2 separate regions of the Homo sapiens genome follow, and region 1 is linked to region 2. The links are contacts of gene promoters, found by promoter capture Hi-C in blood cells and fetal thymus (Javierre and others, 2016). All regions are on one chromosome and are shown on one strand. The core of a region is centred on a gene start or on the middle of the fragment in contact, and the rest is flanking DNA. Distances in the headings are between cores, read along the strand shown. Region 1 has its middle 28 kb from the start of XCL1. Region 2 holds the start of F5 (coagulation factor V).

Region 1 (3,033 bases), core at 351-2,850, 980 kb before region 2:
AGAGTTCAGGTCCTTAACCAACAGGCTCTGCTGTATCAGTTAAGTTTTGGTTCTGAAAATGGAAGCCACTCTAAGTTTTTTTCACTATAAAGGAAGCTGACGTAGGGAATAAGGCTTATACAACCTTTATATATGCCTCCCATTGGAAGAAAACAATGATCAGGATGGCTCTAGATCTAGAAACACAAATATTGCAGTGATATCACTACTACTGAGCTTAGCTGCTTGCAGCATCTGGGAGCTGCTGACAAAGCCCCACATCAGCCATTTGCTGATACCCAGACGCGTGCCTAGATCTTTACTGGAAGCAATGGCCCATCTTTTTCTTCTGCTTTGCAAACTTCACAAAGTGCCACCCCAATGATATTCAAACAGGCACTTGAGAAACGTGATTTCCATGCTTTCAGGCCCTGTTTTACAAGGGGAAAGCTTAGAAGGACAGAAAGGATACTGAACATCCACAGATAATATCAGGCTCACAGGTTATGAGACAAAGCATAATTTACCTGATTTTTTCTATCATTATGCATTTAGGTTGTTTCCTAGCTTGTGGCTACACACTTCACTGGCTCATATGCCCACCTGCATATATATTTTAGCCACACACCCAATTTCAGTTCTCCCAGGGAGAACTGAATATGCAGGTGGGCATATGACCCAGGCAGAGCTGAAATTGGAGTGTGTGGTTAAGATATATCCCAGGTGAGCTCACAAATGTTCTGCTCTTCCACTCCTGGCCCCCTGCTGATGCTTACTGTCCAAACAGCCGCTTGAGGGCAGCACCTCCCCACTACTACAGATGCTGGCACCTGGCATGGTGATGCTGGCTTGCCTCCCTAGGCTAGGTCTCCTTATCTTCCCAAAGCTGCAGACCCTCAGGTTGCCAAGGCACATCATCCGTCTGTGCTGAACCCAACCAAGATTCTTCACCAAGTGAAGAATGCTCTGCACTAAGTCTTCTAACTTCTCCCCTGAGTACTAAACAGAGTTTTCAGGCCTCTGTGTCTCATTTATGGAAACAGCTTCTTTAGTGTCTGAGGGTGATTCTCTGTCCCTTGTGGCTAGACTGACCTATGGGCCTGGTCGGAGGCAGATGTCTCATTGTCTGCCATCTACTCCTCTCTATCGCTTGATGCCCAACCTCTGAGAAATTCTTTCCTTGATGAAAATCAACTCATGGGAAAGAAACTCCAGTTAACTGCCAGCTCTGACACTTCACAACACATGCATTTATTGTTTGAACCCTTAGGTTGAGAAACTTTCTGTATAATCTACTGCTACAATGAAAATTTTGGCCATCACTCTTTGTTCACATTCTCTCCTTAGAGAAGGCTGTGATACATATTGGCAAATTTCTTCCCGAAAGATCACACCAATTTATGCTTCCACCATCCAGTGACAGTGCCTGTATTTGTACCCTGGTCACTGCACTCTCCACTGAATGGTATTTTATCAATCTATGGAGACATTATATTTATGTGTATGTGCATGCATATATATATTTATATGTGTGTGCATGTATATGTATATAAGGGTGTGTGTTTCCCTCAGGATGTTCTGCTCACCATATTAAAATAAATCATGCCCAAATTCTCTCTGCTATATTCTTGAGACCCAAAGCACTGAGCCTTCCAAAAATGTGAGGACGGCAACAGCCCCAACATATCTGTTTAGTCCATTGTAACTGTGATCATTGCAGCTGTTGATTGATTGAAAGGTATTCTTCCAGAGGTTGAAGGGGTGTATTGCTAAGGAGTAGGTTTAACTGCAAGTGACCAAAAAGCCAAAATAAGAGTGGCTTAAACTAGATAGGTTTTTTTTTTCTCTGTCCTCTAGGGACAAAATCAGTAGTTAACAAGGCCAAGGCTGGTATGAGATCCCTGGAACCCAGGTTCTTTTCATTTTTAATTCTCAAATTTGCATCCACTTTCCATCCAGCAAGAAGAAGAAAAGGGAAGAAAAAGATGGGTTTCTTCCTTCAAAAGACATTTTCTAGAAGCTGTATGCATAACCCCAAGTATATAGGTAAGTTCAGCTGCAAGAAAGTATGGGAAATTCAGTCTTTATTCTATGTAATTGTTTTCCAGCTAAAAATAAGAGGAGTTAAGTAAAGAACAGATCTAAAGAGACAAACAGAAGTCCCTCACCTGGAGGTATATAAGATATGATGTCTGTTCTTAAATTACCCACAATTTACTTATTTCCTGGAAAGCCTGTGTTCCTCTTTTACATGGTAAACAAAATGTTGTGGATAATGGCCTATTTCTTTCTTCCTTTTAATTATAGTCTGATTTTCCTTTGACACAGATTATAGTTTCAGAGATGCTTCACATTCATTTTGGACTTCAAGTGGCTGAAGTTTCTCATACTTTACTTTCTTTCCTAGCCAGCCTCTCTGTCTGGCCATTAATGAATCTGAGAATAAACACTCAAATGCAGCTGGTAAGTGTGAGCCTGAAGATTTGTTTCATATCTTTTCCTTGACAAAAGAAGGATGAAACTGTACTAAAACACAAGGAAGCAAAGAAACTGAGAAAGAGGGAAATGAAGACAATGAATATAACCTCCATTATTCAGATTAAAAAACCTAGTTTGGCCATTCCAGGGAACTTTAATGGAGATATACATCAGTGGGCTTAGGGCAGTTTACAGAGGCAGGATTTCACCATGGTACTATATGTATCTTGTACATCTCATAAAATGCACAACAGCAAAAAATTAAGGTAATATAATTTAATAAGTTACTGGTGAGATGAATAAAGATGGTGATATAAGCTTTATTGACTAGCAACCTTAAATAAATAACAGGTATATCTTGGGCAATGAATCCCAGAAGTGTTTCTTATCACTCATAACCACTTGGCAAATGGTCCTTCTGCTGTCCAATTGGTTGGGGAAAAGTTTCCCTATTTAATTTTACATCCATCTTTATTTCCAGCTTTCTCATTTTTTGCCTGAACCATGCATCTATGCAGTGTGCCTTACTCAAGAAGCATTTTCTAAATGAAGCAATTTGTGTACAGTTGATACCCA
Region 2 (3,006 bases), core at 53-2,552:
TTATTTTTGAGAAGGAGGGATCTCTTCTTATTATAAGACCAAGATGGTATGTAATACCCTCCAAAATAACCCAGTTACAATGAGAGTTTTAAAAAGGTTAATATTATACACTAAAAGATCTCAAAATATTACATTATTTTTTGGCAGATTACTTTGGTTTTGTAATTGTAAAAGAGGAACACATCTTTCATAATGAAGTGTGATGTAAGGAAAAAAAGTGAGTCACACTAGCAGGTTTACCATTTAAAAAATAACTAACTGGAAATATTGAATAGACTGTATGATTTAGTTAATTTCTGAGAAGTCTTATTTTTAACATTTCAATTAGAAAAAATAGTTTGCAACTCAAGGATAGTATTTTATCTGAATTAAACCTCCTCTCAGTTACATATGCCTTTAAGTAGCCAAGGTAAACCATATCCCAGGACATGATGAACAGAGAGAAAAAAAAATGAAGAGTCACATTCAATAGGATAAATAAGTCAAATATGAAGCAGAAAAAAGGTGAAAGTACAAAAACATACAAGAACTGATGATATTTTGAAAGTCATTTATAAGGCAGCAATAAAATTATATGACAAAAAGCACAAGGTGTTCATTTTTAGTTTTAGAAGATGAAGCTATGTAGACAATGGAATAAATAATATGTAACTAGGAGTCTCATAAAAATACTATACAACTAAAAATCTGGAACAGGAGTTTGCAGGAAGGGCTAATGAGGGAGCAAGTGCCTGGTGCCTTTGAATTAACCAATATATAAGCCAACACAAACATACTAACAAAACTGTATTGAAAATAAACTTGAAAAGAAGGTAGCATCTAACCAATCAAATAGGGTGCTTTCTAAACCCTCAGAATGATAAACTACATTGTTGGATGCAAAATTAGCATTTGCCCAGTTTATTTAATTCAGTATACTCTCCTATTAGTTATATTTACTTACCTGAAGTTAAAAAAAAAAAAAGCCATGACATTGCAAAGGGAATGTTCTCTAAAAGAAATAGATTTTCCTCTCTAGAGAAGCCCACCCGGACTCCACACCTGAGTTACCTTGAGTTTGTGGGCTCAGGTCGGTAGCTCCAACTGATGCCCTGAGCAGCCACGTAGAACTGCCTTAGCTGTGCCGCTTCTGTCCCTTGGCTCCCCCAGCCTACCCAGCTGGTGCCCAAGACCACCAGGACCCAGAGGCGTGGGCAGCCTGGGAACATGCTTCCTTTCCTGCTCCCGCTGGCTGCCACCACCCCAGGACCTGGGCAGCGCTTGCCGAGCTGCTAACCACACTCCGGGCTGTCCCAGCTGCAATGAGCTCTAGAGGCTGTGGGTGGCAGCGTCCTCCTCCCCTGCAGTTCTTGCAAACGGCAGCAGCAGCCTCTGGCTCTCACTCCCTCCGCTTTTTCTGGGGCTTTTCCTGGCAGGGGTTTGGTGAGATCACAGCTCCCAGTGACCAGAGGTATTAGGGAGAGCAACCAAACTAGTGACTGTTTTACTGCAGGTGAAGAAGGGGCAGAGATCAGAGGCTCTAGCAGGCGGGACAATGCCCAGGGATTCATGAGCCGGACAAAGCTGTATCCCTCCATTTCCACCTGCCAACACCACGGAAGCAGTCGTCCGTTACCACTGACCTGAGGCCTGCCTGGGTCCAAGCTCACACTTGGAGAACCTTCTGTGCAGTGCAGTGGCACCCAACCACCTTAAGCAGATGGCTCCCCTTTTAATCTGAGGAAAAGAGTATTGTGCCCTGTTACTGGGCACTGAAACACTATTTTCAAGTGGTGAAGAAGCAGGGAACAAACACATGGACAAGGCCTACTGCTCTGAATCGCCTTCCTGGCCTCTATCAAGGCACAGTTCTGCCTTGATAAGGGCCTGTCGCCAGCTAAGCTGCAGCATAGCAGCGGGCTTGAAGAGCTTGGCTGAAAAAAATCAGTTGTCCAGATTTCAGTTTCACTTACTAGCTGTGTTGTCTTGGGCAAGTTACTGTACCTCTCTGTTCAGTTTTGACATCTGTGAAATAAGGATGACAATAATAATTTTTCCTGATAGGGTATGTTGGGAGGATAAAATGCTACTGTAAACTATAGTTCCAGCACTTAACACACAGAGGCTAGGCGCAGTGGCTCACGCCTGTAATCCCAGTACTTTGGGAGGCCAAGGCGGGTGAATCACCTGAGGTCAGGAGTTCAAGACCAGCCTGGCCAACATGGTGAAACCCTTCTCTACTAAAAATATAAAAAATTAGCCGGGCGTTGTGGTGGACACCTGTAATCCCACCTACTCGAGAGATTGAGGCAAGAGAATTGCTTGAACCTGGAAGGTGGAGTTTGCAGTGAGCTGATATCATGCCATTTTACTCCAGCCTGGGCAACGAGAGCAAAACTCCATCAAAAAAAAAAAAGAAAGAAAGAAAAAGAAAGAAAGAGAAAAAGAGAGAAAGAAGGAATCACAAATTTATTATTATGATCATATTTTCCTGTCTCCAGGACCCCTTGTATTCTTGTTTTTCTTGAAGGATCTGACTGTTTCACAGCACCTTAAATCTTACTTTGCTATTGATAGAGAATCTGCGAATTATATTGTCTGAGGCATCATAATGACTTGTCCTGGGTTCCCTGTATCTGCATGGCTCCAGGTTTCTGTCTTATGCTTTATGCATTCAGTACATTCAATAAATTGTAATCTGGCACCTCACATGAGGTCTCTGTTAATGATATCAGGCTCATCAACAGCCTCTTCCTCCCTCCCCACTCCCCCCAATATTCTGTCTTTTCTCCTGTGCTGATATTATTGCACCAACTTAGAATGCCCATTTTCTTCCTCTTTGCTGGGCCATTCTTTACAGTCCAGAGTTCTGCCTATCTCCCAGATTCTGGGCTCAAATTGGCTTTTCCATTTTATGAACTATTACAACACTATTCAAATTATATAATCATGTTAATTACCTTTTGTTATTCCATGCAGGTATCTATTGTCTCCCTAACTGAACAGTTGCTTACACTTCTTTATCTA

The links. The method cuts DNA at HindIII sites, captures the fragments that hold promoters and counts their contacts. A CHiCAGO score of 5 or more calls a contact.
Region 1: a fragment that was not itself captured here is called in contact with the fragment with the promoter of F5 in region 2 in 5 of 17 cell types (total CD8 T cells, fetal thymus, total CD4 T cells and 2 more); the score reaches 7.3 in total CD8 T cells.

The regions. Positions count from the first base shown.
Region 1 is chr1:168,602,905-168,605,937 of GRCh38, forward strand. No RefSeq gene overlaps it. Among named protein-coding and RNA genes, the nearest start is that of XCL1, 28 kb to the left of the region's middle. The HindIII fragment of the contact is 2,346 bases long and covers 428-2,773 here.
Region 2 is chr1:169,585,179-169,588,184 of GRCh38, forward strand. F5 (coagulation factor V) reads right to left here and starts at 1,303. Exons shown (of 25, transcript NM_000130.5): 1 at 1,051-1,303. The coding sequence starts at 1,208. RefSeq lists enhancers at 777-1,278, 1,279-1,778. The HindIII fragment of the contact is 11,391 bases long and covers 1-3,006 here.